Linked DNA regions of Homo sapiens: all the other regions are linked to region 2. The links are contacts of gene promoters, found by promoter capture Hi-C in human tissues and cell types (Jung and others, 2019). All regions are on one chromosome and are shown on one strand. The core of a region is centred on a gene start or on the middle of the fragment in contact, and the rest is flanking DNA. Distances in the headings are between cores, read along the strand shown.

Region 1 (3,211 bases), core at 161-2,660, 400 kb before region 2:
GCCACTGCACGCCAGCCTGGGCGACGGAGTGAGACACCATTTCAAAAAGAAATAAAAGAAAATAAGAACAGTCTAAGTTCCTTGTAATATTGATGAAGTAGCAAGAGACAGCTTTAAAGCTGTTTTCATTTCTTTGGAAGATTAATAAAATAAATTTGATTCATAATTTGAATCCTGAAAAAATGTTTATCTCAAACATGCTCTTAAGTAGAATTCCAATATTTTCATTTTTTGTTGTTTGTTTCTCCTCCTATTCTTTTAACAAAATCCATGCAAATTAATTAAAAATTTGCAAATTTGTCTAAATTAGTTAATTTTACAAAATTCCCAATTGCAATGTGGGTTACCATATATTCTACTAAAAATCTAGTTCTAAAATTTAGAGTTAATACACTTTCTGAATAACACATAATCAGTGATCAAAGAGAAAAAGAGATTTTGCGTCATCTTAAAAGTGAAATAGATCCCTGAGCTTAATGTTCCATTTCAAAGCAGTCAATTGGATTTTTTTTCATTTTTATAGTTAGATATTCTGTGCCATTTCTTACTGTTTCATAGAGACAATTTTTCCAGCAGTTTGTTGGGTCTGGAGTTATAAAGTTGAATAAGTGACAATCAATCAGTGATCTCAGAGAATTTATAGGGTAGTAGGAAGGGAAGTTGTACGAGTAAATAATTATATGATTTCACATTGAAATGGAAATCTGTACTGTGGAGGTCAGTGGGCTGGGTATTGTCAATAACCAGGATAAAGTCTGTGTGGTAGGAGCCCACTACCTGCTTTACCATCTGCTGCTACTCATTCTCCTGCCCCTGTCAGTTCCTCTCTCTAATGGCCAGCCACTTCACTGCAGATGGGGGGAGTCTTTCTTATTTATTTTGTTGTTACTATAAGTAAGAGACTTACATGTTATTCAGGTATTTGAATAACATTGTTTATTGTCTCTTTTGAAGTAATAATTGATCTCTACCAACTTATTCTAAAATTAAAACATAATAAATACACTGTTTTTTTTTTCAGAGATGGGAGAATGCTCAAAAACATGTAAGATGTGGGTAGGTTTCTCAGCAATACTATTATTCTTTACCTGCTGTCCATTAGCCAAAGACCAATTCTGGCTGCTGACAGTGTAGCAGTCCATTTGCCACTAAAGTTATGTGAAACCTATTTTTGAAAATGTAATGGATTTGCACTTTACATTAAATGAAGTCAAAATATAAACAGTGTCCTAGAAATGAAAAGTTAATCGTATTAAACTAATATTTAAATCTCTGTGCAAAAATTGGCTCTTTAACAAAATGTTTGCAGACTAATGATATCTTTTCAGTTTTGTAAATCAGGTTGTTCCATATCTGTGGAATCAGAAGACATTGAAACATTTGGCTCATCTGATTCATGACAATTTGTTTATATAAATACCGCATGTTTCAGGGATCTACAAATACTAACTTCTCTGATAATTTCCTGAAAAAACACCCCCAAGTGAATTATGCTGACATTTTAATCTAGGTCCATCCTGTCTCTGATTTAAAAGTCCAAAATACTATTTATCAATTTCAGAATTACTATAATCTTTAGTTGAATATTGTTATGGTCATCTGTTTTTTATTTAAGTCATTGTACTTTATTTCCAAAAACACAGCTATAAACAAAACTATGACAAGATAAAATCATTTGATATGATGAAATTTTCATTAGAATATGTGTAGTGGAGGCAGTACAGATGAAATACTGTAGTAGGTGTTGGAAACGGTGGGCTCATTATCCTGTCTTTTTTATTTTTGTATAGGTTTAGAATTTTCCCTAACAAAAATGTAGTTTCTTTTGTAGTTGGCAGAAATCAAAAGGAGACAGAAAAATTATTTATAATGAAAATTTGTCTGTCTGGATTAATGTGTTTTCAGTAGTACAATATTTGGTGCAGCCTTCTTGTGTTGTACATGTATGGACTCAGGGTCGATTCCTCCCCTAATGTCATGCAATTTTGAAAATGGAAATGCTGTGCAAGAGCAGATGTCAAATCTGATCTTCTTTGCATGTGTCCTCAATAGTTTCAAGGATGATATTTTTGTTGGTTGGATGCAAGCTGGCAGACTTACTGAAAAGGCATTTGGTTTTAAACTGTTAATTTCTATTGAGATGTAGATCATGTAGTAGTTTGTGAACTAATATTTTAGACGGGTGAAAACGCAATTGAGGTTCGTGCAACTGCAATTGCATTTGCACCAACCTCATAAATGAACTTTAAAGCTTAAAATCAGAGAAGGAATAGATGGAGTTATGAGGGACAAACATGATACTGCTATGATCCCGAGATTTTCCTCCATTGAAATCTTTCTTTTGCAGGTAGACATTGTAGAATGACCTCTTTAAAATACACTTTTACCTGGAAACAGTATCTTCAATGCATCAGTGTGCATTTGTGGACTGTTTTCTTTGGCATGTGTTGGACGCGGGACAATGAGGGGCAGGGAAGGCTTAGGGAGGGAACTAAGTCTTAGTAGAAAGAAGAGCCCATAGATAAGGAACCCTAAAACATGCCCAATCTATGTGCACACAGCCCAACCCAGGACAGGCTAAGGTTATTAAAGAGGTAAACCCCATTGAGAGATGACCAGCCTGTTGGGACACTCAAATGGGAAAACTCAGCACTCAGGGGCATGTTTCTGAACCTGACCGCTGAGGGAGAAAGCAGCTGACAGAGAAACCAAACAGTCTGTGGGAGAAGTGATAAGGCCCTAGGAAAAGCACTACATAATTTGCAGGTGTGTGTGACCTCCGTGCTCTAATAGAATCTTAGGTGTGATGAGGTTGTTTAGGATCAGTGATTTAAGAGGATATAAAGAAAAAGGAGAAGATAAGAGGAAAATTGGCTGCAAATTTTTGCAAATATTTCTACAAATTCTAAGGTACTTTACATACTGATATTTTAAAATCTTTTTCTTTAAAATTTAATTACAAATTGCAGTATAATTTTCTAATATTTTGAGATCTCCAAGAAGTAAAACATCTGAGCAGAATGGTGCTCATTTGTTGAAATTTTTGGGCATATTATTTTCTTCTTTTCTTCCATTTGTTTTAGTCAACAATTATTTAATACTTGTCTACTAAATGTCAGTTATATATAATTACTAATTGAGACCATTTAGTCTAGGTTTGACAAAGATGGTACTAGCATGCATGCAGTTTTCCTCCAGAAAAAAAATTAAT
Region 2 (2,849 bases), core at 30-2,529:
CCTTTAAAGAGATGTGAACCCCTGAAGGGCTCCGCACTCCTCTTCTTGTCCTTTCTCTTTCCTAACAAATCACCCCTAATTCCACCTAGCACGGGTGTTTCTGATCTTGGTACTGTCCTCTTCTCTTCTCTTCCAAGATGTAACAAAAACAACCCCCACGCACATCTCAGCCCCTGCACTGTGAATGTTCCTGCGGTCCCTGCTGAAGGATACGCCTGCCAGGGGTGGCGATGGAAATTCTGATTAATAATAAGGTAGCTCTTCAGCGCTGAGCTCCAGGGCGGAGAGAGATCATCTTTGCCAGAAAGAAAAAGAGACAGAGAGAAAGAGGGGGGAGAAAGGAGATTATTTCTCCCTGTACTTATTCAAAGACGCTATTTTTAAAAGACAAATTTGTGTGATTTATTTAAGATTATTGTGATCCAATTAGGTGAAGACTCTGCAGATAGCGCACCTTCCCACCACCCCTCTGAGATACACCGTGATCTCATAAGGCACCAGCAGGGGTTCTGGTGGCGTTGGTACCAGCGTGGGCTCCCCCAACCCCACCCCCAACTTCTGCCTTCCTCTAGCCCTTCATTTCCACGGACTTGCCGCGGGGTTGGAGAAAAGGGGGGAGGGGGAGGGAGGGGACCGGGGATATCTCTGGGAATGCACATTTCAAAAACGAAGAGAAGGGGAGGACGTTGTGAAGAATAAAATAAAAATGTCCTTATCTTTTCTATAAAACCCCAAAGCAAGAAAGAAGAAAGAGCAGCCGCTCCTACCAGCAAACCCAGAGGCGGGGTCGCTAAGCAATGCGGCACTCCCTGGCATCCATCAGCCGCGGCTTCAGCAGCGGCGGCGGCGGCGACAGCGGCATCAACTCCTCTGGGCGGGATGGAAGGAGCAGAGAAGAGGGGTGGCGGCGGGGACCCGGGCCGAAGATGCGCTCGGGAGCAGCCGCGGCCACATCGTCCGCGGGCAGCCCGCAGCCTCTCCTAGCAGGAGGGGTGAGGATCGCAGGGCTAGGGCCACCGCTGTCCCAGGTTCTCGCCTGGCCCTGCCATTTTCGCCTTCGGGAGAGAAGGTGGGGAGGAGGACGCGAACGCCTGGATGGAGAAGGCCACTCGGGCGGCCACCGCCTTTGTGAGCCCTCCGGGAGCAGCCGGGGAGGTGGGCGCAGCGGGGCGGCTGCTGCGCGGCGCTGGCCTCTCCTGGGGCTCTCCCGAGCGGTCCGAGTCAGGGTTGCCCCACCGGGCTGCGGCGGCGGCTCCGGCTGCTGCTGCTGAAAGAGGACTCGGCTCAGCCCAACTCCTCTCTAATTATCCCAGCACAGATCTCGCTGCGACGTAAGCACTCACTCAGCTCGCGCGCGCGCTCCGCTCCTTTCCCTGCCTCGTTGGGGTAGGACGGCAATTTGGGTGGCATCGAAATATCCCGAGCCCTAAGTTTAGGCTGCTCTTCGTCCCCACTCCTCAGCAGGCTGCTGAGCGGGCGTCGCCGGGCCAGGCGGGGCAACCATGCTTTCCAGCCTCCCCACGCCCCTCTCTTCGCCCTTTGTGTGCAAGACCCCAGATCAGCCTGGAGAGTAGCTGTTGTAGACGGTAATTCACATTGACACGCATTTTCTCGTTCCTGTAGGAGGCAATTTTGATGTAGAAGGAGTACGGAAACATTCTGTACTTTTCGCATTTGTTGTAGACAGAGATATTTAATTTAGAAAACACCAGAGTGGTTCCAAGACAATGTACTGATGATTAAGCCTCCGGAGGAACTTATATGAATAGTTTTTCAACCAGTCTCCCTGCTAAATTTCTGTTGAAGAGGATGAAAATGAGCACTAGGGTAAATGATAATAAAAACATAATTCTCAAAGGAAGAAAAAAATAGGAACTTCACTCATATCTCATCATAAAGCAAATATTTCTGGAAACACATACCATCCTTCCTTCAGTTGTATGCATCTGTATATGAGAATCATTATAAATAAACAGAAGTCCTTGCGCTTAATATGACTATCTATGGATTTGAGGAAAAGGGATATTTTCTATTTTCAAAACACAGCACATATTACTGAGCGTGTTACTAAGAGCAACTTTTGACTTTATAAACTGTAGAATGGGGTCTTGAATTGAAGTTAATTCAATGCAACTAATATTTACTGAGTTCCACGAGGTGTGGGGCATTTTTCTGCATTCTGTGTATAGGAGGTGGTCTTGAAGATAAGCAAATTTTGTCATTTTCTTATCTTGACATTTCTTATCTTGTCATTTTCAATGTTGATGACTATGAGAACCCTCAAAATACAGGCACACTTGTTTTTGCTCTTCTCATGGCGATGGTGTTGATAAAAAGAAAGAAGGAAAAGGGTTGTATGGTAGAGCTAGAGCATTTATTAATTAAATTAATGCAAATTAATGTAGGAACCCGAATAAGACAATAAATTACACACACACACACACACACACACACAGTCATTATTGTCAAGGAATTTATGTTTTAAATGGGGAAGGCAGAAAATAAACCACTTAAGTGTGTGTATATGTGTGTTATATATATGCACTATATATAAGGTCCTTCTAGGATTTTAAGTGATTATGACTTTCTCAAGCATGCTGAATGCAATGTGAACTGTTAAATTTTTGGTTCTCATTTTAAAACATTTGAAAAAATCATTTTTTCTAATATTTTAGAGGTTGAAGAAAATTTATGTTTCGTATCAACTGTATGAAGAAGTTTTAGTCATCACCAACATGGAGAGACAATTCTCCCTGGATCCGTTGTGTTTCTACCTGTCTTATGACCAAGGCACTAATTGCCCTTTTTTCTAGACTGTCTTCTCAAGGGTATTTGTACAGTAAATAGTC
Region 3 (2,857 bases), core at 348-2,847, 330 kb before region 2:
GCTCAATGATTTATTGAAGGAGTATGTGTTGTGTAGTCTGCTTTTATAAGAAAGAATCAAGACAGTTGGTCTCAGAGACTTATCCCAAAAGGCACCTTTCAGAATAAGTTAATTCAACATATGCCATAGTAAACTTAACCAGTGTTTTTGTCTTGCTACATCTAGAGACCATAAATATTCCAGTGTCCAGTGATTAACATAAAAAGGTGGAGTTTTGTCCCCAAAGTTCCAGTTTTAAAGTTATTTAGTGTTCTGATTCTGTTTAAACTGATATAACAGGGATTTATTTTGTCTTTTGAAACTGATAACTCTAAGAAGATTCAATTAATCTATATATTTTATTCACTACTCTAAATTTTTAAAATGTTCCAATAGTATTGCAATTCACATATGTCATCTTCACTCATGTCATTGTCCTCCTCTACGAAATATTAGAACTTTCAGTAAAATATTTTCATAGTCTAATACTGGGTCTAGAATATTTGGTTTAGTAATCAACATTAGTATTTTAATTTTTCTGTACTTTTTCTGAGTTTCTTGGTGCCTAGTCTCTAATATAAATTCTTAGCATGATTTAATTCTGCCCTGAAGTATTTTAAGGAGAAATACTACAACTGTCATGTTAACAGTGAAGAAATTGATGCCCAAAGATTAAATGATTAGCCAAGATTTTTATGCTGAATTAGCTACTTAGTATCAGACTTAATAACCACTAAAAATAATCTTATTTTTCTTTTTTTCAATATTGGAATATATTAGCAAAACTTATCCTAACACATAGTCAAAATTTTTGTCTTTGTAATAATTTTATTGTGTTTGCTAGGCATGAAGGAAGATTACAGATAATCTGTTGATTAATAAAAAAGACCAATCAGGATTCTAAAGAATAAAATCTTAGAAGATGCCTTTAAAATCCATGATTACTCATTTTCTGAAGAATTGTTAAAGTGAAAGTTGGACCCATAACAGTAGCACTTTCACTTTAAGCAGCAATTTACAGCCTAACACATTTCTTGTTATGTCCATTATGCCAAAATGTCAAGTTGATAGGATGGAAAGAGGTCATGTATTATTTTCAAAAGTAGTTGAGGGGGCCAGGATTTTCTCTGCAAGCATTAGCTATACAAAAGTATTGTATCCAAGCACTGAGAATTTTTATAATCTTCATCCAAAATGTTAATATACAGCAACATGTGTACAGCTGTATGTAGGTGAAATACACGTGCAACTCTAAGTGTAGAGCTCCAATATTCATTCCTTGGTATTTTTTAAATATCAGCCCTCATTCAAAAGGCAGAATTGAATGAAAGAATGGGTCACAATCTCACTGCAACCTGTCTTATCACTCCAAGCTATTTTATGCATATGTTCTAATATGCTTCTCTCCTTGAAGGTTTTTTTGTTTTATTTTGTTTCGTTTTGTTTTTTGTTTTTTCTTTTCAGAGATGAGGTCTTGCTCTGTTGCTCAGGCTGGCCTCAAACTCCTGGGCTCAAGAGCTCCTCCTGCCTCAGCCTCCTGAGTACCTGGAATTATAAGCATGCACCACACACCTGGCTTCTGTCCATTAACATTTTAAAAAATATATTATTTCTACTGTAAGTCTTCTATTATTTTTACATTTTTGAACAAGATATAAGATGATTCATACTTAAACCTATGACATTTTATCTACTTAATTGATTATTCTTACTTCAAATTCAAGAAAATCGATACTGGTACCCAGAAAAACAAGCAAGAGTCTAGTGACTTCCCCTCAGTAAAGGAAAACTAAGGAATGCCTGCTTGTTTACCTTGGTAAGTGGCCTTTGCACAACTTTCTGAACTCATTGAATGGTTTAAAGTCAGCAGGCTCATTAGCTGAAATATTTCCAACTCGCCATCTGCCATCTTCAAATAACATCACAGGGCCTGATTCTGACAATTTCTGCAGGACCTACAAATGCATGCAGCCACCTCCAATTATATCTCACCTATTTTAAATGCACACTCTTCACACTGGGAAGCTTCAGGGAAGGAAAGAATAATGAGGAGCATATAAGTAGGCATAAAAGAAAGAACAGATAAAAGCAGAGTGACACTATCAGAAGTGTGGTACATTGCATTTAGCATATACAAAAGACAAAAGACCATGAAAATGAAATGATGACAGAATAAGGCAGGGACAATGTATGCATTTATTCTGTGCTGAAAAGAGAGAATGCCCTGTGGCCCATTTTATGTGTTTAATGTCCACTCAGCAAAGTTTTTCTGTAAGCATCAAACTCCATTGGGAATTTTGCCAAGGAAGGATTGCAGAATCAGGACTTAGGCATAAAGCATTGAGTCATGACTTAAGCGCCTGCATTACAAACTGGAGCCATTTTAGAACTACACCTACAGAAACTTATCAACCATAATTGTTTTTGTTTTGTTTCTGTTGTTGACTTAATGGGTTTGAGAGGTGTGTAAGAGGGACAGAGACAGAGACAGAGAACATGTGTGTGTGGAGGTGTGCTTGTGTGTGTGTCTATGTGTTATGGGAAAAGCAGTGATGTCAGTAGTTTGAGGCTCTTGCTTCCTGAAATAACTAACAATAAACAAATTAGTTCGTGTAGCCACTCTGAATAATTTTACTAGACAGACAAATTAAATATAAATATCTGAAGATAATGCACACCAGGGTTCAACGTCTAGTGAGTCAGTTCTAATGTGTTTTTCCATACATGTAAGGGTTTTGGATAGTGAGACAGGGATTCTGCTTCATATTTTGGTTTAAACACCCTAAAAATGAAGTTAGCATTTTGATTTTCCTGTCATTTTGAAACAGCATTTTAATTTTGTTATATATCCGTAACAATTTTTGAGTGTTCACATAAT

Evidence for each region. The method cuts DNA at HindIII sites, captures the fragments that hold promoters and counts their contacts. A contact is called where the count stands out against the background at its distance.
Region 1: a fragment that was not itself captured here is called in contact with the fragment with the promoter of CLVS2 in region 2 in 2 of the 25 tissues and cell types used here (hippocampus and thymus).
Region 3: a fragment that was not itself captured here is called in contact with the fragment with the promoter of CLVS2 in region 2 in 2 of the 25 tissues and cell types used here (H1 embryonic stem cells and dorsolateral prefrontal cortex).

What each region holds. Positions count from the first base shown.
Region 1 is chr6:123,394,855-123,398,065 of GRCh38, reverse strand. All of the region lies in intron 12 of TRDN (triadin), which reads left to right. Among named protein-coding and RNA genes, the nearest start is that of TRDN-AS1, 43 kb to the left of the region's middle. The HindIII fragment of the contact is 5,436 bases long and covers 1-3,211 here.
Region 2 is chr6:122,994,665-122,997,513 of GRCh38, reverse strand. It overlaps CLVS2 (clavesin 2), which reads right to left and starts at 1,279. Exons shown (of 6, transcript NM_001010852.4): 1 at 768-1,279; 2 at 1-295. It overlaps LOC124901392 (a long non-coding RNA gene), which reads left to right and starts at 2,594. Exons shown (of 2, transcript XR_007059733.1): 1 at 2,594-2,849. The HindIII fragment of the contact is 5,962 bases long and covers 1-2,849 here.
Region 3 is chr6:123,323,034-123,325,890 of GRCh38, reverse strand. All of the region lies in intron 23 of TRDN (triadin), which reads left to right. All of the region lies in intron 1 of LOC124901393 (a long non-coding RNA gene), which reads right to left. Among named protein-coding and RNA genes, the nearest start is that of TRDN-AS1, 120 kb to the left of the region's middle. The HindIII fragment of the contact is 8,405 bases long and covers 1-2,857 here.